Regions from separate parts of the Homo sapiens genome. Here all the other regions are linked to region 3. The links are contacts of gene promoters, found by promoter capture Hi-C in blood cells and fetal thymus (Javierre and others, 2016). All regions are on one chromosome and are shown on one strand. The core of a region is centred on a gene start or on the middle of the fragment in contact, and the rest is flanking DNA. Distances in the headings are between cores, read along the strand shown.

Region 1 (4,260 bases), core at 1-2,500, 76 kb before region 3:
TGCATGGTTCCTGGGGTGGAGGCTGGCAAGGTTGTTTCACCTGCTGCTGCTGAGGCTGAGGGGGTGGGGTGCAAGGCTGCTTCTGCTGCTGAGAATTCATGCTTCAAATGTGTTTTTTTCTAGAGACAGAAAGCTGACACAGTGATTCAATTAAAGAAAGATGGATACAAATTCAATGCCAAACAGATTTTATTTCAGGACCCTTTAGAAGAGAAAGCCTTTCATCTCCCTTAACTCCCCCATTACATTTAAAAATGAAATAAGCTTGGATAATTTTCAGGCCCTTTGAAGAGGAGGAGCTAAAAGGCAATTTCTTCTGCTCCATTTTATTGGAGTTCTCTTCTTGGCTCCCTTCCTACCCAAGGCAACTTATATCTGTTCTGGAAAAATGCCCTACTAAAGCTGGCTTCTGAGGGACATGAGGTCCGCATATTAGGTCTTTTGGAAAATGGCATCAGACCACTTTCCTCTCCTAGTACCATGTAGAAAGCCTGTGACTTATAGGATGGCTTTATATTCATCTAAGCCTCTATGGTTTTGCTTCTGGTCTGTGCTTACACAGTCCCTTCCAAATGCTTTTCTTCCCATCTCTGCTTGTCCAAATACCCCTCCATCATAGCTCACATCACTTGACACCCCTAGGAGGGTCTCCTTGAGCAAGGTCTCCCAAAAGTGCACAGCCCTTCTCTGCCCATCTCCGTCATGCCAATTACTATCTACTTTGCATTTCATTTATTTATATATATGTATTACCTTCCTGCTAGGTTTTATGTTTGTTAAGTAAGTACGTTAGGCATTGATTTGTCCAAAGTGCCTAGCATACTGCCTTAAATGGAATAAATGCTCAGTAGAGATCCATCTAATAAATTAAAATTTCTATAAATATCTTGTCAGGGGGAAATTGCAGTGTTACTGAGAGTGCTCTGGGCCTGAGTTCTAGTTCTGCTATGAACTTCCCATGGGCATTTGAACAATCTTCTCCAGGACTCCCAGTTCAATGACTATCTACTGAGGTGGGAGCCCTAACCATCTCTAAGGTCCTTTCAAATCCAGACTGTAATTTAACTTAAAATAAAGATATTCCACTATTCTCTATCTCCCATTGAAACCCTGGATTAACCTGCTTACACATATTTGCCTTTAGCTAATTTCTAATAATGAAAAAGTACACTAGAATTGCCAGTTTGTTGCAATCAGAGACTTACCTGGTATACGGAGCAGAATGGGCTGTGTGGTCCCTTGGGTTTGGTGTGAAGGCAATGGCCAGCTGGCTTTTATAAGATGAATGAGCCCTGCCTCAAGGAAATAGAAGCTCTCGGGCACTCTGTTTTCATTCCTCACCTGTCACACATGACTCACACTACCATCCTCATCACCGGTTGGCTCAGCTTTTTTGATGAACACCACCTGATATTTTTTGGCACTGGCTGGCTGAAAATGATGTCACTGGCCTAATTTTCACTGCCACCCTCATCCTCAGACCCAGGTGCAGGGCTTGCCTTGAGGGAGGGGTGAGCAGCAGGCTTCATGGAGGGTTTCATGAGTTAACCCTGGGGGGACATCTGAGTCCTGTTGAGGCCTTGCCACCTGCTGTCCTTGTCATTGAGATGGTTGTTCCCCGTGTTCTGTGGGACAGGGCACTCTTGCACACATGAATAGGTGGGAAAGGGAGGGGGAGCAGAGGAGCTGAGGTGGGCCCTCCTTGTCTGCCTTGGTGAAGGTGGAAGCTAGAAATAATGAAATGGACTGATTATAGACCCCTTGTCTCAGAGTCCAAGACCCTTCCATCCATTTCCCCCATCTTTTTCCCAATTCCATTAAACTACACACATTCAGAATAATTTACTTATGACTCTCCCACTCTCACCTTCCTCCCCCTGACTGGTTGCTAATCTGGGAAAACCTGCTTTCCTTCACCAACCACACCTTTACCCTTCTCCTACTTCAGGGACTTTCAGGGGCTAATCCTTCTTCTGGGATCACTTTTTCCCTTCACTCCACCCAGACATCTGGCCCTGGCCTTTTCCTCCTTTCTGATCAGGCTAGACTGCCCCCCACCTGAAAACCCAAAAGCCTTTTCTACCTGCCTCCCTGCAGCCCATCCATGGGGTCCTCAATGCTGAATCCTTCTCCACTTTTGCCCACTGCCAGCTCCAGCCCCAATACCTAGAGATCCTGCTGGCTGCAAGGTTTTCCTCCTCCTTCTGGGTCTGTATCTCCTGGGGGCTTTCCGAGGGTCAGAGCTGTTCCTGCTTAAAGCAACGGTGTCCCCACCACAGTGTTTATTTCCTCATTTATTCAACAAATCTCAGTGGGGAGCCTAACATATGCCCATCATGCCTGTCATTCTAGGAGCTCTCTGATGAGGAAGCCCACTTTTCCTCTACAGATCATGAACTCCCCAGGGTAAGAGACAGAGCACAGTTGAGAGCCACTGAGATTATGGATCTCAGAGAGCCTTTAGTTCACACTCCTCAAGGGATGATTGGGGAATCTGAGGCCACCAGAGGTGAAATAACTCACCAAGGTCAAAAAAACAAACCCTAGGAAGAAAAGAATTTTACACAGAAATCCTGTGTTCTCCTTTGTTTTAATTCCTTGTGACTCCCTAATGTCTATGGAGGAAATTAAGCCCAGGCAGAAAATTGATTAGAGGTGGAAAGGGGAGCCCTTCCTGACTGAGAGCTGGGTCACTTGTAGTTCTGGAAAGTTTTAGGAGTGACAGCGTGAGGACACAGAAAGAGCCTTGCCTTGTGGGTAAGCCTTAATCGGTGCTAAGATAAATCCCTTTAAGTAGAAATAAAGATGCTTAATATTTGAGTGGCTCTAAACAGTGGGTGTTTCTAGCTCTGCTAAAGTAAGAAGGGCATGAATTAGAATAGGTGGAAATAAGGTTCAGTTTATCATTACTCAGGGCACCAGGGTCGGAGAAAGGAAGGGAAAAGCCAAAACTAAAATGTCTGCTTCTATCCTGAGTTGCTTTCGCTCTAGGGGAGCTCTCAGAGTGACATCGTGACACAGCTGAGGTGAAGGCACTGGGGGAGGCAGTAGGTGATAAGCCCCTGAGCACCTGCACATGCTTGCCTTCACTCCACGATGGTCAGATTCTGCCCTGCCAAGGAACTTCTCTTTCCTGGGGACACAAGAACAGGGGTTCCCTCAATCTTTCCATAGGCAATTGCCATAAAACTGAGGTCTCTGATTCAGAGCTGCACTCAAAACACAAACTGTTACTAGGTGTGGCCTTTGGAAAATCCAAATCATCCTTAAAACTCAGGTGTTCAGATGGTTCCTCCTCCTCATCTAACCCCTCCTTTACCCAAACACACACCTAAATGTTTGTGGAGCACCTGCTGGCTCCACAGCCAGTGAACCTGAGGCCAAGGTCAGCCTCCCACTGTGTCCATGCAGCCATTGGTCCCTATCCATCTCCATCCTCACACAGTGCCTGGCGTGCAGAAGCTGCTTGGTGACTGGCATTTATAGACCGACTGCCTGGCTGGCTGGCTGGCTGGCTGACTGAATGAATGAATGACTGAATGGCGTTATTTGTAAAGACAGGCTGAGAGTCTACTTTGAAACCTGCCTAGAAGCTCCGGTACACAGTGTACCTGCTGCCCTCCCCACCCACCTGCCTCACTGTCAAACAGTTTAATGCCCCACCTTGCTCCGGGCTGGTGCCAGCCCCACCAGGACACCTGAGCTCCAAGACTCTTGCCTCACTTAGCTCTCCTCTAGGTTTGTGCCCAGGTCCCCTTCTTCACCAAGTCCCCACCCAGGAGCCCTGACAGCAGGGGCTGCTGGAACCTGTTGCTATGTCTGGTAGGATTCTCAGCCCTGCAGGAACCTGCTGCCTAGTTGTCTGTCCTCTGGTGTCACCCAGCTTGTCTCAGGCCCTGGATGATCTGAAGCCACCTCTGAAGCTGGTGTGTTCTCATGCCCTCCCTGGACCTTAGCCCTGGATGCAAAGGAATTTCCTTCTCCCTGGTTATCAGCTCCTTACTGGACAGTCCTGCGTGCCTCAACATGTGCTTCCTTCACCCCACCCAAGCCTGCTTGGGCTCCAGACTCTGGAACTTTCTCTTGGTCTCTGACATTCTTCTCTCTGTGTATTTGAAGCTTCCACAGTGACTTGTGTTAATCGTTAATCTTCCCTCAGAAGAAACTTTGTTTCTCTGCCACTGGGGTTGGGTTAGCTATTGAATCAGGCCCCACAAACTCCCACATAAAGACAAGGGGAAACTGGGTGGCTTCCGACAG
Region 2 (4,192 bases), core at 1,676-4,175, 88 kb after region 3:
CAGGATAACCATGAAGAAGAATACATGGGAACTTATCTCACAAAACACCAAGAATAATTATAAAGCAATTGTCGTTCAGACTGTGATTTATTGATTAAGGAACAATGTGACAGGTTATAAGAACTAAAAGTCATTCATTCATGTATGAACCCCTGAAATGTGTCAGAGGCAGGATTACAGAAAAGTGGGTTAGGAGTAATCAGTTCAGTAAATGATACCATACCAACTGTTTATTCATTTGGGCAATAAATAAATGCCTCTACTTCACACCATATAATTAAAATAAATTCCATAAATCAAAGATCTAATGTAGTAAACAAAACTTTAGAAATATATTTAAAATTTTCAAAAATGATTTAATAGAATAACCTTATGGACTTTTGATGGAAAAGATTTCCTAAATAATATACATGTGTTCACATCAGAGACAAACACATTACAAACAAACAAAAACCCTTGAGTTTGGTTATATTAAATTTTCTTTAACCAGAAAACATCACAAAAGATGAAAATACAGATTATGAAAAGATATTTGCAACACATATAATTGACAACAAATTAGTATCTAAATAAATAACCCTACAAATCAGTGAGAAGAAAGCAATGACCCAAAGGAAAAATGAGAAAAACACATGAAAATTGATTTCCAGAAGTGAAAACCTGAATAACCAATAACCAATATGTTTTTGAAAAAGCTTTTCAACCTTGCTAGGAATCAGAGAAAAGCAAGAAAAAACCATGATGGTATATAATTTCACATCTATCACCTTGGTAAGAGTGAAAAATTCTCACTATTTATTCTTCTCATTGATGTTGAATAACAGAAATTTTCATGTACTCTGATGGGAATGTACATTAGTACAACTTTTGAAGAGTAATTTGGCAATATTTAGTCAGGATGAAGGCAGATATACTGAATAACATGCTGATTCTTCTCATAAGTGTATGCCTTGGATGCAAAGGTTCCAAAGTATGTGTAAGAATGTTAAAAAGTAGCACTTTTTATAAAGTACAAAGTGAAAACAAGGTAAGTACCCAATTTCAGATGAATGCATAAGTAAAGTATGAATATTCTTACACTGGAATGCTATACAATAGTGAGAATAAATGAAAATGAAATTGAGTCATCTGTATCAACATAGATAAATGTCTCAAAGTCATGGAGTAGATCACTTTTAGAAAATTAAAAATACAAATTATAACTAATATAGAAATAAGTTATAAATAAAATATAGCTAAGTACAAATAAAGTATAGTTAAGTACAGAGGAATTGTTACATTTTTAACTTATAAATAAATTATAAGTTAAGGATAGATAAGCACAGGAAAGTATATGCATTGCACAGGAAGGAAAAACACAAAATACAGAATAATGAATATCTCTAGGTAGAAGGGATATATAAGGGGATGGTTTCAATCATATTTATGATTATTTATTTCTCAATATGAGTGGAAAATACATGCATGCAGTGTTTACCAGGAAATCCTTTTAAGTTTGTATCTGTGTAAAATATTTTATTTAAGAAATTTATACATATGTAAAATTTAACACATACTTATATAGTAAGGTATTACTCTATTATATTTCATATATATTAAAATATTTCAAAAAATTATTTTACTTAATTTTGTTTTCCTCTTCTCTAGCAAAATATTTAATTTAATATGCATGTATTTGTGCTTATTTTTCTTTATAATTTCTTTAATTGTTTTTATATTGAGAATGTTTTTCTCAATCCTGGGAGAAGATAAACATTTAGCTACAAGTACTTCTTTCTTTATAATTCGATTTCCTCAAAATATTTAATCCCATGGATTTTGTCTTGGCATCTAATACTAAATGAGGGTTTACGTTTTTTTTTCAGTTATCAAAATTCCCTAACTCCAGGTATTGAATAGCCATCTTTTCCCCATTGATAACCATCACCTGCATCATCATATTTTAATTCTTTGTGTATATATACATATATATAGAGAGAGATTTAATAGTATATATATGTATACATACATATGTGTATACATAGATACGTATATGTGTATATATACATACATATATGTGTGTGTGTATATATGTGTATATATATATATATATATATATACTATTACATTCTTTTTTTTTTTTTTAAATTTGCACCAGTCTCAAGGTTTGGGGTTTAATTATGTGAAAGTTACAGATAAGTATTTTATCAGAATGGGACTTGTGGTGGATAAGAAAAATCCTCTAGATTTCCGGCAAACAAAAGGAAGAAAGAGAATTTCCTAGGACTAGAAGCTTAGGATCCTGCCCTCTTTGTCCTTTCCCTGGGAGGAGCCTGCAGGTGAGTCCCTGATATGGGGGATATACAGAATGAGGACCCGACTCTTCCCTCAGGAAACATGGAGGAAATGAAACCAGTTTTGTCATCTAAGCAAAGATGAGTTTCTAGTTCCTCTGCAAGCATGGGTCAAATGATGCATGAGTGCTTTCTATGACCAGATGTTGATCACATTGTCAAGACCAACTGTTCTTAGCCATTTATCCACTGTCTAAGAGAAGATTCTGGAACCAAGGCTGAACTTCAAGAAATTCACCCTGGAGAGGCATCACTCACATCACAGATAGAGGGGAGACACTAAAATGCCCAAGAGTGGAGGAGTCAGAAATTGGATTCTGCTTCCTGGTTGCTCCAGTATCAGAAGGATATTGCGCCTACATGTCAGACTGAGCCTTTTCTTTGTTCTCCATTCAGAAAATACATTTAGAAAGCTGGAGAAGGACAGACATTAGGTGGGGAATGAGTAGAAGGACCAGGCTCCCTTTCTCTGGTATGGTGGGCCAGCCCACTGGAGCAGGGATATGGGCAAATATGCCATTCAGTCAAATTTGGGGCCGGGGAGAGTGGCTTGTGCCTGTAATCCCAGCACTTTGGCAGACCGAGGCAGGCAGACCTCTTGAGGCCAGGAGTTCGAGACCACCCTGGACAACAGGCAAAATCCTGTCTCTAAAAAAAAAAAAAAAATACAAAAATCAGCCTGGCATGGTGGTGTGCATCTGTAGTCCCAGTTACTCAGTAGGCTGAGGTGAGAGGATCACTTGAGCCTAGGAGGTTGAGGCTGCAGCGAGCCATGATTGCACCACTGCACTCCAGCCTGCACAACAAAGTGAGACTCTGTCTCAAAAAAAAAAAAAAAAAATCAATCAACCAACCAGTCAAATTTGGCGTTGATATTGTTTTTCTGACTGGATATTTCATTACTGAACTGAAACCAAGTTTGTAATTTTTTTGTTTTAGAAATGGGGTCTTGCTTTGTTGCCGCACCTGGTCTCAAACTCCTAGGTTCAAGTGATCCTCTCTCTCGGGCCTCCCGAAGTGCTGAGATTATAGGCAGGAGCCACTGCACTGGGCCCACGTTTGTGATTTCAAGTAACAAATCATTTTGCATTACTTTGAAAGAGCTGTAAAGTCAGTTGGCCTTTCAACTTGTCATTTAGGAAGGAAAACCATCCCACTGAGTAAAATTTTAAGGACAATTTTACTTTTAAAATTTTTAAATTTTTAAAAAGCTATAATTTTATTACATCCTCCAAGCTAAGCTTGCTCAATGTGAGGGTTGTAGACAGATTTTTTAACATCCACCAGCTTAAGAAAACACACAATCGGATAAGATTTCATAGAAGGATGACATTTGAGGTGAACCTTAAAAGAGGGACAGAATTACACAATGTCCAGATGGTGGGGAGAGATTTGGAGGAACTTCAGATAGAGGAAATAGCAAGTAATGCTGCTAATAGTAATAGTAAGTAATGATTACAGTAGTTAGTAGTGATACTAAGGGTAGCAGTAGTAGTAGTGGCAACACTTATAAAATATCAAGAGAAGCTACTCTTTATTGAAGACTTATAGTATTCTAGATACAGAGCTATGAATAGTAAATTCTACTTACAGCTTCTCAGAAAAAAAAGGATGAATATATACAAGTGTAAGTTATGAGTTGCTCAGTGCGGCAAGAACATGGGGTGTCATGGGAAGTATGAATGGTAAACCTTAGAAAAGAAGTTGGAAACAATTCCTGCTGAGTCTCAAATGTAATACTTAAGAAGCACATGCATTTTTCTATAGAAAGCCTCTGTTTTGAGGAAGTAGAGTGACAATTTCAGACATGTGGTATAGGGAATGTGTTCTGGAAAAAAGTGCAGAGAATTTAATGGAGA
Region 3 (4,253 bases), core at 173-2,672:
GATGGGACCTCCACTGGGAGCTCGACAGGCACCTTCTGGCATGGGGGAGGCAGTGGAGTTGGCTGTTTCATTTGCTCCTGATGGGTATTGACTGGAGGAGGAACAGTCTTGAGGAGCTCCTGACTGAGGGCAGGGGAGAGGGTCACTGGCAGTGTGTGTTGCTGGGACATCTTAGAAGCTACTGTCAACCTGAAAGACAGAAGAGGTCTGATGCACAGGCTGAAGGCAAAGGAAATAGATGAAACCTTGGGAATCTGCAGAAGTATCTGGTTTTTTAGCATCCCCTCTTCCCTTGGGCAGGGTACTGTTCTACCACCTCTGGACTATCATTTCCCAAAAGCAGCAGAGAGAGAAGGGTGGAAATGTGGAGGGGCAGAGAAAGGTCCTCCTAGGAGCCTCCTTGTTCCCAGGTGAGAGCCAACAAGGAGATCTGTCTGCAGGGCTGTTCTGCAAGGGTGGGTCAGGTGCCAGCTCACTGTCTGCTCTTGTCTAGTCCTTGTGTCCACCCTCATCGCTTCACTGACCAAGGAGCAGAGATGCGTTCTGGGATTATGTCACAGTGAGGAGTAAGGCCTTAGGGAATGAAATGTCTCTTGGAGAACACCAAGTCCTAGAAAACCAATAGGCCGTGCCAGAGAGGACCTAAGAGGTCATGGTGTGACCTCCAGACTGGAGCCACAGGACATGCTCTAGGCCTGAATCTCCCATTGGAATGCTGTGTGTTTCTGGGCATGTCACTTAGTCTCCTGGGATTTGGTTTTCCCCCCTGTAAAGCCAGCAGGTTGGCCTATTCAACCCCAGGGCTGCTTTCTCTCCTGACCTTCTGAGGTTTAGCTGCAGTCCTTGTGTCTGGGGTGGGGCTGCGGGAGCTGGAAGGTTGCTGAGAGTTGGAGGTTGTTCTTCCAAGTCTTATACTTCTAAGTTGAGTTTTCCTGTCCCAGCTCTGCCTAGGTTTCTCCAAATAGAAAGGTTTCCCCATTCTGCCATCCCTCTGTGCAGCATAGCCAAAAGGTAGAAGCTCTTCCCTGAACCTCTCCCTCCATAAAGAAGGCAAAATGATGGTCTGTCAAAACCCAAGAGGTTTAGGAAAGAAGTTGAATGCTATTCCCCTCCTCCCTTCCATAATTCTCTCTCACACACAAATCCAAAAATATGGTCACAAGAAAAGATGGGACATAGGATGATTACTCTCTGTTCTGCACTTCTGTGCCAAGGCACTTTTCTCTCAGTACTCTGACTCGAGTCCCCCTAGAATGAAAGTCCAGCTGAATCCAGCCCCAGAGTAATGCCCACCCCCACCCAGGCTGCCCACCCCCACCACATCGTATGCTGTTGGAGGTCCCGAGTCCCAACCCTGGTTCTACCATCCGACACTTACCAGACTCACAGTAAGGCTGAGGCAGAGGCTTTGGTGGAGTGCTGAGCTGAGCAGGAGTCAGGGCACTCTTTATATCATTCTGCAGCCTGGCCTCCCTCCAGGTTGAAGGTGATGGACAGGTTTCACCACTCTAGTTGGTCAACTTCCTCTAACCCCTTCCTGACTCACCACAGGCATCTTAAGCAGCAAACCCTTTAGGGCCCCATTTCCCAGGGACACACAGCTCCTGCCTGGCCAGAGGATTCTGGTAGCTCAACTATTCCTGTGATGCTTTTCTGACCTAGGCACAGGGAGCTGAGTGAGGCATCCTACTGTTTTGTGACCTTAGTCAAACTTCTGCTCTGAATCTCAATTTTTCCACTTTCAAAATGAGTTTGTTCTCATTATTAGGCCAAAAGATTCACTTTCAAGGGCATGAAATGGAAAGTTATGTGTCTTTCGGGGATGTCCAGGCTGGGTTATATGTTTGAAGATAGAGTCACTTCCCATGAAGGGGTGGTATTTCTGGGGTGTTCTCTTGGGCCACAAGCCCTTCCTCTCTCAGAATATATTTTTTAACTCCATCCTATGTGGAAATAAACTCTGTCTTTGGTGGAGGGAGTTTGACTTTAGGCCAAGTAGAGTCAAGTAGAAGGCTTCTAGGAGTCCTCTGCTGCTGCCACTTGCTGCCCAGCCTCTATGCCCGAGGCTGCAGTTAGAGAAGTTCTCAGGAATGCCATGCTCATAAGAACTCCAAAGCACGGCCCACTCTAGGCAAGGAAACAAGATTGAATCTACACAATATAAAAATAAGTATTGCTTTTTATAATGACAAACCAAACTACTTTCTTAAGTACTTTTTTAAATGCATGAAGGTATAAAGATCAGAATCAAATCATCCATTTCCTGTTGTAAATCATACTCTAGAAATAGCTTAAGAAATCTTTCAGAGTGGGGATTTGAGCACATCTCTCCCCCGTGCCAACAGTGCACCAGCACACTTGAAATAACATTCAAACTCACTGCCGTGGTTTAAAAGACCCTGGGTACCTGGCTTCTGCCTTCTTCTGGGGCCCCAATTCATGTCAATCTCTCCCTGAGAGGTATATTCTTACCTCACTGAGGGCCTTCGGTTCCTGAGATGAGCCCAGAGCTCTCCACCTGGGGGCTTGGCACCTGCTCTCCTTCTGCCCACCGGCCCCTCCCCAGGTCTCTGGTTCTTTTATGCCTTTCAGCTTCAGTGTCAATGTTGGGGTCTGTCAGAGATCCTTCTCTGTGTACCATATCTAAAGGATTGGTACTTAATTTCACTTATAACAATCTAGAGTAATTTATTTGCATTTGTTCACTTGCTTATTGTCTATCTTTCCCACTGGAAAATAAGCTAAGAGCAGCGTATACCTGGTATGTTTTCCACTATACCCCTAGAACCTATCAAAACTACTGCATATAATATGTGCTCTACAAGTATTCATTGAAGAACAGTGAATTTTACGACCCGAAAATAATGACTATTAAACATTTCAGTGTTGATCAATGTTTATATGTGTGTGTCTGTATGTGTGTGTAAAAACCAAACTGATTTATTTCTTCCCTTTCTTTTTAATGGTTGGCTAATAACTTATTATATGGACATCATTCATTTACACTCTCTTTTTTACAATCTAATCCAAAAAGAAGGAATTATAAAGACAATACTCAGTGGGGCTAATTTTGAGAAGTGTCCTGATTCCCCATAGTTTTCCTGACAGGCACATTTCTCTTAGCCCCAAGTAAATCTATTTAAAGCACTAATTTTGTCATGTTCCTGGATCATGCCTAAAAAGACAGAGGGAGGACTCACAAGGCACCCTTGGTTTCTGCAGTGCTATCCCCTCCTCATGACCTCTCTGTTCCCTGAGCCCACCCAGGGACCTCACATTCTTTTTCCCATAGAACAGGGACTGTGCCATTTTCTGGGGCAGAGGAAGCACAGCCCACTCTGCCCTGAAGAACTAATCAAGCATCCTTACTTTGGCGCTGATGCCCTTGTGCTCTGCTGCTGACTTCATCTGGGGGGAATCTGCCTCTTCCCAGCCCGTGACAGTCAGTCTGGGGCAGCAGACTCAGATCAAGGAAGTCACACCGGTCTTATGGGTTAGCAGGGGCTCAGTATCTGCCAGATCTGCCTCCCGCCCTCTGACTCACGGCATAATAAGAGCCTTAAGGAGAAGATGGTATGTGTGAGCCTTTGACTGCTGGGCAAAGCTAGGGTGTGGGAAAGAGGGCAGTGGATACAGCTGAGGGAGTGTTTGTGTGTGTGTGTATGCAAGGGAGGGGTTGGGGAAACCTCAACATTCTAGGGCTGAGAAGTCCCTTATTCTGCCCACAGGTTGCCCCATTTGGGAGACAGGCATTCACGTATATGGGAGAGGTTCTTTCACTGCCTATGTGAATGACCTCATAAGCTCCAGGTCCACATGACAAGTCTGGGTAACTGTCCAACCCCCACCCAACATAATAAGGATGAGCTCATATCCCATGACACATGGAGAAGCTTTGGCCCCAACTCTGCCCCAGCCTAAGGATGCACTGGCTATTTCAAATTTGGAGGCAGAAGCTGGCTAGTTTGTCTCTCTCCTGAGTGAGGCAACCTATTTGAGCTGTTGCTTAGTGGTAGGGGGCAGAAGAAATTGGTTATGGTGATTCAATGTCCTGTGGGGAGGGATGCTGAGGACAGCTCTTAACAGATTGCCAGAGGGGTCATAGCAGATGGTCCTGGAAGGTGACTTGGGCCAGAAAATCATGCATTCTCATCTTGAATAGCCATGCCTCATCTGCTTCCTGGTATGGCACTGCCCCATGCTCTGAGGCTGCTAGCCTCCTCTCCCTCTCACAAGCCTCCTCCTCTCCCCAG
Region 4 (4,347 bases), core at 1,484-3,983, 93 kb before region 3:
ACTGCAAATTCTACAAGGGAGGTGCTGCGTATCCTCCTCTCTCTCTCTTGCTGGTCCATCTTTAGGGATCTCTGCACATAAGAGTTACTTAGAAAAAATAACATTGAGCTAGAGAGGGTAGAGCTTGTGTGAATGATTATGTGACTGTGTGGCTATTTAAAATGAATGTTTCTCTTTGTGAATGACTCTGTGTGTGTGTGTGCGTGTGTGTGTGTGTGTATGTGTGTGGTGGGGTATCTAGAAGGTAAAACAAATGAAGAAAAATAGACTGTCCAGTCAAAATATGTAGGAGTAAAGTTTTCTTGGAACAAACAGGAGATTTGTTGTCAGGATACTGAGGATCAGAGGTGTCTTGGAACAGGTGGCTTGGAGTCAGGCATGACTCAGTCCAGTGCAAGAGGAGAGCCTGTGGCTGCCCAAAGTGACAACTTCTATTCAACATCACACCAGGCCCATTGCCATTCCAGGAACACCTCAACTGTAACCCCATACACCCATAGAAACAAACAGTACTGGGGTTAAATAGATGACTTCTACATCAACTCCTCTCTGTCTATAGGTCCTGACTCACAATGGGGAAACAAGGAAGGAGGAAGATTCTGCCAATGACACACACAGCCAAGACTGGAATTAAAAGCAATTTAATGAGGGAAGAGCAGGAAACATGCATTTCTTTTCATTCGAATCTTCAGATGAACCCTGAGCAGCCGAAGACCAGAAAAGCCATGAAGACTTTCTGCTTAATTCAGGGGCTTACAGGATTCTTCAGAGTGTGTGTGAACAAAAGCTTTATAGTACGTATTTTTAGGATACAAATAAGAGAGAGACTATGGCTTGGGGTGACAATGTGCTGATTACAAGGTCTACAGACAATTAAGACACAGAAACAGATGGGAAGAGGGTGTCCAGCATCTGGTGGTTGGCTTCTCAAGGGCTTGTCTGTGCACCAAATTACTTCTGCTTGGTCTTCTGCTGAGCTGGGCCTGGAGTGACCGTTGAAGGACATGGCTCTGGTAGCTTTGTGTAGCCTGGCACAGGAACTTTGGTGTATCCTTGCTCAGGAACTTTGATGGCACCTGGCTCAGGAAACTTGATGAAGCCTTGGTCAGGGACCTTGATGCTGCCTGGTTCAGGGACCTTGGTGTAGCCTGGCTCAGGGACCTTGGTACAACCTGGCTCAGGGACCTTGGTACAGCCTGGCTCAGGGACCTTGGTACAACCTGGCTCAGGGACCTTGGTACAGCCTGGCTCAGGGACCTTGGTACAGCCTGGCTCAGGGACCTTGGTACAGCCTGGCTCTGGAATCTTTGTGTTTCCAGGTTGTGGAACCTTTGAGTGGCATGGCTCCTTGGTTGTGGGAACAAATATTTCCTGAGGTGGAGGCTGGCTGGGTTGTTTCACCTGCTGCTGTTGAAGCTGAGGTGGTGGGGTAAAGGTCTGCTTCTGCTGGTAAGAACTCATGCTTCAAAGGATGCTGGACCTAGAGACAAAACAGCTAATTCAGTGCTTTGATTAAGTAGGAATGAAGCCCAGTTTAATGACAAATATCTGTCATTTCATTCTCCTTCAGAACTGAGAGCCTCTCTTTTCTTTCTTTTTCCCTGAATTTGAGATCATGGGATGCTTTGGTGATCCCCACTTATCTTCCAGAGAATAAGGTAAAGTTGATTTCTTCCACATCGTGTAAATGGAGCCTTTCTTTATGCTTCTTTTCTTCCTGGTACATCTAAAAACCTACGTACAACATGAAAACACATACAAATATGCAAATATATACTCTGAAGCTTTCGCTTACACACTCTTTGAAGAATCCTCTAAGCTCCTGAATTAAGCAGAAAGTCTTAGTGGCTTTTCTGGTCTTCAGCTGCTCAGGGATCATCTGAGGAATTGAGTGAAAAGAAATGCATGTTTCTTGCTCTTCCCTGATTAAATCACTTTTAATACCACTCTTGGCTGTGTGTCATTGGCTGAAGATTGATGTGACACCTCAGTTTTTCCATAAGTTGGAAAGATTTTAAGGTCAGCAGTCTAGAATCTACTCACTCATGTCCTCCTTATAGAGTGCGATAGTTCTCCCAGGAGAACTCTTATCTAAACTTCCCCCTAAGGCTCCCACAATCCACCTGGGAGCCTCTGTTCACACTGTGCCTGCTGCACATGCTCTCTGGCAGGCTCTCCACATCATCGCTGCCTCCCCACACATGCCCACCTCTCATGGCTGTCCTTCCTGATGCTCTCACCTTCCTCGTTTTGCCACAGCATGATACTTGCTTTCCCTCTCTGCTAATCACTCCCCATGCTGTATGTTTGCAAATTTTAGTCAAGTATATGTTTTCTAATGGATTATACATTCATGCAATAAAGAAAAACTTATCTTTTGATCATCAAAATTGCCAATGTAGTGCCTTCTATATTAAAAATTTTCAATACATGTTGACAGGAGAGTGCTCTTGAAGTGGGTATATTGTCTTGCTAACTTAGCAAGCCTTTACAGAAATCACTCCCCTTTTCTGATCCTAAGTTCCACACCTGTAATCTGAGTGGAAAGTCAAAATATGTATAAGGTCACCTTAAACAAAAGTCGTTATTGCATTTAAAATAAATATATTCATTGCATAGCAAAGAGATCTCAATCAAAATAAAGAAACTATTGGAGAATATTAAGGTGTTCCTAATGCGGAGACTCACCTGCTGTGCAGAGAAGGTCGAGGTGTTCAGCCTCTGGGATCTGGTGAAGAGTCTCTTGTTAGCTGGTATTTATATAGAAAATGAGCCCTGCCTTAAGAAAATTGGATTTTTTAAAAGACTGCTCTAACTTCATTCCAGCTTTTGTGATAAGTATCTCTGGCTTAACATTTTTTGTCACTTAAGCTCTGACAGTGATGTCACCTGGGCCTGACTCACTGTCCACCCTTTGTGGTGTGGTTGCTGTGGGCAAAGGTCTTCTTGAATGGCAATGGATTAAATTAGGAGGAAGTACCATGCTCCTAGGACTAGAACGAGCCAGGCCTCTTGGCCTGGGCCCTAATCTTTAGCCAGATTAGTCCTATTGGGCTTCCTCATGGTTGAAGTGGACATGGAAATAACAATAGGCATTTCTGGTTCTGCGAGGCCATGGGGATGGTGCAGAATAAGTGAATCATCTGATTTTCAGTCTCTTACTGGATTTGGACCTGGGAGGAGCAATGGAAGGCAAAATGCCTGCTTTGGAAATAAGTTGCTTTCACTGTGAAGGGCGCCTTAAGGTGCCGTGTTGATCAGGGATAGTAGATGTCATTGAGATGGACAGGCAGGATTGACTGGATCTGTGTGACATTGTGGCTCAGCCCTGAAGACCCTGCCTCTTGTGGTATCTTTCTTCTCCAGGAGTGACATAGGAAGAGGAGCGTGCTGATTCCCTAGGTTCATACACCAGCCATTTCCTCTGATCACTACAGGATGAACCTCAAGTCACTAACTCAGAGTTGCCCTCAATACACACTCTCTTACTAGACGCGGCCCTTGGAAAATCCAGACATCCTTACATCTCAGGCATGTGAATAGCTCCTCCTTTCCCAATGTTCCACGACTGTGTTACTCCCTTGAACCTGATGCCCAGCTCCTTCCACCAGGTTCTGAAAGCCCCTTGTTCTACTTCAGCGTCACACAGTGCCTGGTTATCATGGGTGTTAAGTCAATGGACAGTCATTGTTCTCCTGAATAGAGCTGTAGGTTCATGGAAGGGAGAAAGGAAGTGAGAAAGAAACAGAGATAGATAAAGAAGAAAGGAAAGAAAGAAAGAAAGAGAGAGAGAGAGAAGGAAAGAAAGAAAGAAAGGAAGGAAGAAAGGAAGGGGAGGGGAAGGAAAGGAAAAGAAAAGAAAAGAGAAAAGAAAAGAGGAAAGATAGGGAGGGAGGGAGGAAGGCAGGAAGCCACAAGGCAGTTTCTTGGGCATGATTCACTGTCCTGTGCCAGGCCTCCTGGTGTGAGCTGAGAAGAGGTGTGAGCTGATAATTCATGAAGGAGAAGAGGCTTACCCTCCCTTCCACACCCATGTCCTTCCCTCTCTGCTAGCATTTGTTTGACCGGCCACTTCCCTCTGGGATGGGCCAGGGCCACTGCCATGCCTAAACTCTGGGCTCTGTCATCACATTAGCTCTTTTTCAGTGTTGGGTCCAGGTTTCTCTCCTCAGCAAATCCACCTCTCAGGAGCCACAGACCCTGGGGGCTTCGGCTAGACCCTGCTGCTCCACCTGGGATTTTCCTCCCCAGAGGAAGGAAGCTCCTCTATGAATCCTGGTCTCCCTCATTTTCTTCCTCGATTCTGCACCTTGGTTCTAGAGGAAATTCCTTTCTGATTTCCTGTGT
Region 5 (3,826 bases), core at 793-3,292, 70 kb after region 3:
GGCAAACTGTAGTTGTAGCTTGAGAATACAACTAGTCCTCTTAAATGTACCAAATTAGAAAGGTAGTGTCTCAAGTATGTAGCTCCCACCATTATCAGAGTCCCCACCTGGTCTGAAGACAGGAGCCCATCTCTGAGAATAATCCCATCTCATTCCTGGTCTCTATTCAGGAGACTGTTTCTCTGAGCAAGAGATATCTCTAGGTCCCCAGCCTCAAATGAAGTTGCTTGGCTTCCCATGACTGGGTTTCTCTTTGGTCAATTTCTTTCTGATATCTCAAATCATTTAACTATTCCTGAAGTAACTCCTCAAATATATTTTTAAAATCTCTTTTATTTTGCTTTATGTTTTTAATGAATAATTGCCCTGACTGTTAAGTGTTCATTCAGAACACTCTGATGTCTTCCGGATAAATCTAAATTCCTTTAGCCAGCATTCAAGTCCCTGTGTATACTCGAACCTATCCCATCGCTTTATGCTTAACTTCTGGAACTTCCTTTCATTATGTCTCCTCCTCTGCTGAATGGATGGATTTATTGTATGGTGAACTGGCTTTTATCCTGTCTGATGTCCGTCTGTCTCTACCTCTCTTTCTTCCTCCCTTTTCCACTCTATCTCTTTGTCTTCCTCTTATTTCCTCAGCCTGCCTGCCTTCCTTCTTCCTCTCTTTTTTTCTTTCTTCCTTCCTTCTTTTTTCTTTCTTTCTTTCTTTCCTTTCCTTTCTTTCTTTCTTCCTTTCTTTTTTCTTTTCTTTCTTTTTCTTTTTCTTTTTGTCTTTCTTTGTGTCTTACTTCTTGTCTTTCTTGGTTCCTCTTCTGAGACTACTTCCGAGGGCCAGTTCAAATCCCGTGTTCTCTGTAATGAATTTCTAGACAATGCCTGGCTGAGAAAATCTTTCAGAGCATTTATTACTTGTTATACATATAATTTATTATCATAAACAATTGTACTTGTATGTGATATTGTTAATGCCTTGAACATGGGGCTATTATCTGTATATCTCAAGCCCCATTTCAGTGTACACAATGGTTCATTACAGTTACTAGTTATTAGGTTTGTTAATTATTAAGTTTTTAAAAATCCCCATCACAGATGTTTGCAAAGAACTTTAGTTTACAGAATGCTTTTCAAATATTATGTCCTGAGTCAATTAATTCTGATGAAATACAGACTCAGGCCATGATGAAATCAGACACTTACAGTGAGTTTGGGATTGTCCACATCACACTGTGGGCACCTCAACTATATTTCCTGAACACTATTATATTTTTACTTAGACTGTGCCAAAGAGTTTAGTTTGAGGGGAGTGTTCATGTCCTTTGTAGGGACATGGATGAAATTGGAAATCATCATTCTCAGTAAACTATCGCAAGAACAAAAAAACCAAACACCGCATATTCTCACTCATAGGTGAGAATTGAACAATGAGATCACATGGACACAGGAAGGGGAATATCACACTCTGGGGACTGTGGTGGGGGGGGAGGGGGGAGGGATAGCATTGGGAGATATACCTAATGCTAGATGACGAGTTAGTGGGTGCAGCGCACCAGCATGGCACATGTATACATACGTAACTAACCTGCACAATGTGCACATGTACCCTAAAACTTAAAGTATAATAAAAAAATAAATAAATAAATAAATAAATAAAAGAAATCTATATCATGTTTTCTACAGGTACTTCTTATTTTAGAACCCAGCCCTGCTCATGTTTTCTTAGGAAGAAAGGCCAAGAGATCTGGTCCTACCTCTTTCCTCCAGGTAGGATGGTATCCAAACCACCAATTATCCTGACTTGTACTCAAGACTATAATATCATCAGAACTGGCTTGTTAATCTAGGCCAAGCTTGTTCAACTCCTGTGGGCCCCATGTGACCCAGGACGGCTTTGAATGTGACCCATCACAAATTTGTAAACCTTCTTAAAACATGAAATTTTTTGTGATTTTTTTTAGACCATCATCTATTGTTAGTATTATTGTGTGGCCCAAGTATTAATAGTATTTTATGTGTGGCCCAAGACAATTTTTCTTCTTCCAATGTGGACCAAGGAAGCCAAAAGATTGGATGCCCCTGATGTAGACCATTGGATATAAGTGGTTTAGTTTCCATTTCAATAGAATAAATTGTCATTGGCAAAAGAAGAGCTTAGTGTAGTGTTTTCTTCATCAGACGAGTAAGTCTCTTTTTTCCCTTTCTCATCATCCAAAGAAAGAGAAAAGAAAGCTTCTAAGATTTAGAAGAAAATAATTAAAACTGTGTCCACAGCAGGAAGGGGAACATCACACACCGGGCCTGTTGTGGGGTGGGGGAAGTGGGGAGGGAAAGCATTAGGAGATATACCTAATGTAAATGATGAGTTAATGGGTGCAGCACACCGACATGGCACATATATACATATGTAACAAACCTGCACATTGTGCACATGTACCCTAGAACTTAAAGTATAAAAAAAAAAAGAATTAAAAATAAATAAATAAATACAAAAAAACTGTGTCCACAGCTTAGGTTGTTCACAACTCTATGTTAAAAAAACTTTTAAAGACTAAATTATAAAAGAAATCTATAAATACATAAAATCTCAATTCAGAGTATTTTCTAAAAAGCCTTATGGAAAACCTAAGACAAATTAAATAAAAATCCCTTTAGGGAGGACTTTCAGAACAGTGGCATGAAGAACTCCTTGGACCCTTCTCCTAGCAAAATAATTAAGACTTGAAAAAAAAGTTTTGCAATCATCCTTTGCAAATTGTCCTAAGGGTATAGAGCAAATTAAAAAACTTTTATTCAAGAAAATCTACTAAATCATAGTAACAATAACAATAGTCTGTGGCACTTGAATCACAACTTGCACCCTCCCTAATCTCTTCCAGTTGGGCATGATGCTAGCTCCACTCTTGGAAGATGCAATCAATGAGATAAGGTTCCATCCCCCTTTAGCTCCAAATCATGGCCTCCAGTGTCTTCCTGTGAGGGGGAGGCTGCCAACATTTCTTACACCTCTTCCCTTAGTTCTGTGGTATAGAGGCTAAATTCCAGGAGGGGGACTCTAAGAGATTGGGGGCTTTCTTACTCCCCATCTCCCACTCATGGGGCAGGCAGTCACTCTACCTCAGGTGCAGCAGGGCAAGAATATTGGGACACCAAAGTCCTTTGTCCCAGCTCACTTGTAGGGTGGAGGATCGATGGTGGGAGAAACAATCCAAGAAGAATAGTGGTTGCCACCCCATTAAAGTGTTCTGCTCATTAATCAGCAGTGAGCTCCAGGAGACATTTGCCCTCAGCTCAAAAGCAGTGGCTAAGAGAATTTGTCCAGGGAAGAGGATGTCCAGAAAACCCAGAGAACTCCAAAGTTCTCACCAAAGGAACTGACTATATTTGGAAAAGAGTGTGGGGACGTTCAAGCTTAAAGGCACTTTGGTAAATGGGAGAGATTTTGTTGGCAAGCATTTAAGAAGAGGCTGTTGAGTCATAAGAGCAATATGCTAAACCATAGGGCAGCTTGTTTACCAGAGAAAACCAAGGAAAGTGAGGGCTAAGTAGAGTCTTCCCGAGTTTAGAACAAATTTCAAACCTGGCCTCAAACACTACCCTTGAAAAGGGGCCTAGACTTAATTGGCTTCAATTATGAAGCAATTTCTGTTTGTGTTCTAGGACATTATCAGAAATAATAAACCAATCTGTCAGCAACTGTTGTGAAGCCTAACAGTTGTGTGTGATGCCAACAGAGATAGCTTAACAGAGAAATCATCGAAGAGACAACCAAAGAGAGTTCTGCTAAACCTACTGTCATTCAGGGTAACTGTGAGCAAGCCCAGGGTTG
Region 6 (4,033 bases), core at 2-2,501, 110 kb after region 3:
GTTGGAGCCACAGCCGCCCCCAGAGCTGGAGCCACAGCAGCCTCCGGAGCTGACACTGCAGCAGGAAGAGACTGGAGGGCACTTAGGGGGACATTTAGGGGCGGGGCACTTGGGAGTGCACTTGGGAGTGCACTTGGGAGGGGGCTGGCACTGCTGCTGGCTCTGCTGGCAGGACATCTCGGTGGTGGGTGTTCAGGAGCTGAGGGAGAGTCAAATAACAAGTCAGACCCAGGCAGAGGCCACCTCTGCCCCTGTGACACTCTTAGCACCTCTCAAGTTTAAAAGCATCATCTTCAGTAGTTTTATTTCCAATAATTTCCTCAAAATCTCACATCATCTTTTTCAAGATATCTTTGGATGTCAGACAACTGTAAACTAAGACTAAACAATATTGCAAAATGCATCTAAGATTCTGATGTGTTGTCAGTGGAGGAAGAAATTATTACAAATATATCTTAAGACTGAAATTGTCTAATTTATGAGTCATTTAAGAGAAAATTATTTTTAAAGGAGAAGAAGCAGTCATTCTCTCTGGTCATAATTTGCAAGACGATTTTACTTTGGAAGGTCAGCATTGTGCAGGATCTTGGAGACTACTAGGTCAGTAAACTCACTTCAATAGAGACAGATAAACTTAGCAGTTTCTGCAGACTAGTACTTGAACCCTGACCCCCTGATCTCAGGTTGGAGCTCAGACTTCCTCACTCACCACCTGCTCAGGCTGATGGGATGACACGGTGGGTCTCAGGCTTGGTGTGTCCTAACCAAGCTGGGAAGTTTGTGAACAAATCTCAGACCCATGAAAATGTGGGGTTCATAAACCCCAAAGAGTCTTTAGTCCCATGTCCACAGCTCCAGTTCTTCCCTTGCAGGCAGAGACAGGGTTGTATCTTCAGAGGTGGGCTTCCCTCCTGTGGGCTGCCAGAGTGGAGCAGGTCTCTGTGCTTCAAAGTTCCCACTCTGGAACACCCACCTCATCCCAGAGCAGTTTGTTTCCTCTAGAGTTCAAAGGCACATGGCACAGCCCGCCAGCTCTTTTCCTCTTTTCCTTCCTGCTCCCAGTTAGTGCCAGACCCCTTTTGGCCCCCGCCCCTTCAGTCTTTTCTAAACTCTCCACCTCTGACAACATGGCCCTAGCCCCGGAGGCCCTGCCCCTCCTTCCCTCCTGCTCTGTTCTGAGCATCCCTGCTCTGTTCTTACCGGAGTCACAGGCAGCACAGGGTTCTTTAGCACCTCAGGAGGTGAGTGGATGGGGTGGTCTGGCCCTGAGCCCTTTTATCCTGGCCTGGGCTCTGCCCCAGCTGTGAGACAGGGCCTGGGCATGAGAGGACCTTCCTTCTGACACCCACGTGGGTCTTGTGATGGTTGGTGACTGACAGCTCCTCACCTGCCTCTCTCCCCAGGCTCAAGGCAGCCACTCCCAGGTAGGAAAGTGCCTACTTGAAACGGGGTTCCAGGATGACTCCTACCATCACCTACCTCATTCACTTGAAGGCTGCTTGCCCTGAGAGCCTCTCAGTTCTCAGTCTTAGAACTTAGGACCTATCTCATTTCTGTCTCTTCCGAAGTACCTGATGCTCCGTGCAGCCTGGGTTGAAGTTGAAGTACTAATCCCTGAGGTTTCCATGCATGTTTATTTCTGTCCCTGTGCACCACCAAACTGTGTGGCTGTGGGTGCAGTGTAGACATCTACACAAGTAAAACCCTGGAAGTATAACCCGGCCCAGGACCAGGCCCTGCGAGATGGGACTGTTGAAACTATTTAGCCTGTACCATTTTTTAAACCATAAAGCTGGAAGATGAAAAAGAATTAGTTACAGAAGAATTAGTTGGTTGTGAAAGTCAATAAAGTAACACAAAAAAGAGAAAATGTGCCTGACAGAGAGACTGAAACATTGTAGGCTCTGAATAAGTGAAACATTCATAACTTGCTGAATACAGAATGAAGATACTGATCTTTGTTTAACAAACGAAGCACAGCTTTTTTCTAATGAGAGTGAGTCTGGCTGTTTGGTGATCTGTTTGCTTTTAAATAGCCCTTTTCTTCTGGTGGGGTCCTTGATGTGTCAGCACTGAGATGTGAACAAGGAAGCAGCTCATTAGAGAAACAAGAAGCAGCAGCTCTGCTCTTTGTATTGGTGTGAGAATTTGGACTTTTCTGGGTTCACACTGGGAGCACCGGATGATGGTCACAGATGAGAAACAGGAAGAAAAGAGACATGGTTGTGAGACATTATAAGTCTACGCTTCCATGTGGGGTCAAATGGCTGGCAGAACCCCGTCCTGGACCATAAGGGGACGGGTGCCTTTTAAGAACAAGAGTCCTTAATATTTAATGTGAATGTGTTTATGCTGCTACTTTGGAAGCCCCTCTCCTCTCTCTCCACTAGAATCACTAGCTTTCTACATGTCCACAGGATTTATATGAATGGAGTGTTCTGAATTTATACATTTTTAGGATATTAATGAAATGGGCTGCTGTTCATTCTAGGACACACTAGTCACTAAGACAGCCATGACTGCAAGGTTATCCACAAATTAAACTATTTCTTCAGAGGAAGACCAAGAAAAGCCAGATTAAACCATATGAGGGACAAGTCCTCTTCTTCCCAGCCCCTGACAGACTCTGGATATGCCCAGAACTTGGGAATGATATCTAGGTCAAAATGGACATGGTGACCCTAACCAAAACGTGGTGGAGATACATGTATATTTATAAACACATATACAGAGCATACATATTGAGAGAGATGTATATGTGTGTGTACCACCTGTCTCAGAGCATCAATTATTACAGCTGCCCAGACTCCTGTGATAACGTAGTATCTCCAAACACTGTAGTGTGTCTTTGATTCTGTTCTTTTATGACATCCAAGAAAACATCTTCCATCCCTGTACATAATTAACACTAAATCATTAGTAAAGTCTTGTTCATGATTGCACACTGTATAAGGGTAAATGTCCAAATTCCTTCAGTGAAATAAGACTCTGTGTTCTCCCTTTAGTTTAAGCCTTTGTCATCTACTCTCAGAAATGTTCTGAAACTGAACTGGATTATATTCTGTACTTTGATTATGCTTCTCCCTGCAGTGCATGCCGTGGCCTCTACCCTTCCAGGACAGTGTGGCTCAATCCCACTTTTTTATTTATCCTTCATGTGGCATATCACTCTAATGAGATAACAGTAAATGCTTTGATGGCCTGCCTTGGGTGTTTCATACTTCTTACCTCCGTTTTTCAACACAGAGCTATGTGCACAATGGATATTTAATGACTTTTAAATGCTCTCATTGGTATTAGCATTGATTTACAGTTTATAAACAGCTATTCCTTATGACTCAGGCCACCCTCATAGGAGACACACTCTGAGACAGGCTCAGTGAGGTGTGTGGGCCACATCACCCTGAGAGGTCTGACACCATCCCTCCTGGGTATGACATTTGTTCTCCTGCTCAGATTGTTCCAAAGGGCTTAGTAATGGGGGAGTGGTCAGGACATTGGTTCCCAGGTCGTCACAATGGCAGGTCTACTCAGAAGTTCAACTCCTGGTATCTAGGATGATAGGGCTGGGATACCATCTGGTCCATGCCTCTGTCTTCATGCAGGGCAACACCCAAGCTCTCAACTGACATAACTCAGATGTAGGTGTTGAGTCAGCAACATAGTTGTATTAGGAAGATTGGAACTTGAATCTTGGCTATGAGATATCATGGCTTAGCTATTAGGTCAAATAAGATATCTTGTCCAGCAAAGCACTGACTTTCTGAAATTTCCTATTTGTCAAGGTTTTTCTCTTTTAGGTAGTCAAAAATTCACCGTCTCATGGGATGTGAGTGAATACTATTGCGATCTAACCAGAAATAATTCAAATGGAATAATTTTTTGTATGTGTTCTATAACCAGTAACAAGTTAAGTTAGTAATCTTTGTTTTGTTCTTTCCATATCTACAACCCTTTAAACAATTACAGTGATGAGAAAATACTATTAAAGTCTAGAAGAAAATTCTATTCTATTTAAATAGTATATTTTAAA

What was found. The method cuts DNA at HindIII sites, captures the fragments that hold promoters and counts their contacts. A CHiCAGO score of 5 or more calls a contact.
Region 1: the fragment with the promoter of SPRR1A here is called in contact with the fragment with the promoter of IVL in region 3 in 2 of 17 cell types (naive CD8 T cells and naive CD4 T cells); the score reaches 5.6 in naive CD8 T cells.
Region 2: a fragment that was not itself captured here is called in contact with the fragment with the promoter of IVL in region 3 in 3 of 17 cell types (naive CD8 T cells, activated CD4 T cells and non-activated CD4 T cells); the score reaches 5.8 in naive CD8 T cells.
Region 4: a contact is called between the fragment with the promoter of SPRR3 here and the fragment with the promoter of IVL in region 3, in 1 of 17 cell types (naive CD4 T cells). The highest score is 5.4, in naive CD4 T cells.
Region 5: a fragment that was not itself captured here is called in contact with the fragment with the promoter of IVL in region 3 in 1 of 17 cell types (naive CD8 T cells); the score reaches 5.3 in naive CD8 T cells.
Region 6: a contact is called between the fragment with the promoter of LCE1D here and the fragment with the promoter of IVL in region 3, in 11 of 17 cell types (neutrophils, endothelial precursors, erythroblasts and 8 more). The highest score is 14.7, in neutrophils.

The regions. Positions count from the first base shown.
Region 1 is chr1:152,981,071-152,985,330 of GRCh38, reverse strand. SPRR1A (small proline rich protein 1A) reads right to left here and starts at 1,250. Exons shown (of 2, transcript NM_005987.4): 1 at 1,206-1,250; 2 at 1-119. The coding sequence starts at 100. The HindIII fragment of the contact is 3,855 bases long and covers 267-4,121 here.
Region 2 is chr1:152,819,247-152,823,438 of GRCh38, reverse strand. No RefSeq gene overlaps it. Among named protein-coding and RNA genes, the nearest start is that of LCE1A, 6.1 kb to the left of the region's middle. The HindIII fragment of the contact is 1,302 bases long and covers 2,275-3,576 here.
Region 3 is chr1:152,905,715-152,909,967 of GRCh38, reverse strand. IVL (involucrin) reads right to left here and starts at 1,422. Exons shown (of 2, transcript NM_005547.4): 1 at 1,379-1,422; 2 at 1-189. The coding sequence starts at 170. RefSeq lists silencers at 182-1,382, 1,755-1,807, promoters at 1,428-1,662, 1,382-2,321, 182-3,921, enhancers at 1,542-1,821, 2,740-3,222, 3,511-3,562, 3,511-3,896, 2,655-3,896 and 1 more and a cis regulatory region at 1,576-2,072. The HindIII fragment of the contact is 6,184 bases long and covers 1-3,895 here.
Region 4 is chr1:153,000,135-153,004,481 of GRCh38, reverse strand. It overlaps SPRR3 (small proline rich protein 3), which reads right to left and starts at 2,733. Exons shown (of 2, transcript NM_001097589.2): 1 at 2,689-2,733; 2 at 626-1,480. The coding sequence starts at 1,461. The coding sequence ends at 952. The HindIII fragment of the contact is 2,627 bases long and covers 1,787-4,347 here.
Region 5 is chr1:152,836,716-152,840,541 of GRCh38, reverse strand. No RefSeq gene overlaps it. Among named protein-coding and RNA genes, the nearest start is that of LCE6A, 4.2 kb to the left of the region's middle. The HindIII fragment of the contact is 379 bases long and covers 1,853-2,231 here.
Region 6 is chr1:152,793,939-152,797,971 of GRCh38, reverse strand. It overlaps LCE1D (late cornified envelope 1D), which reads right to left and starts at 1,251. Exons shown (of 2, transcript NM_178352.3): 1 at 1,201-1,251; 2 at 1-199. The coding sequence starts at 177. The HindIII fragment of the contact is 8,213 bases long and covers 1-4,033 here.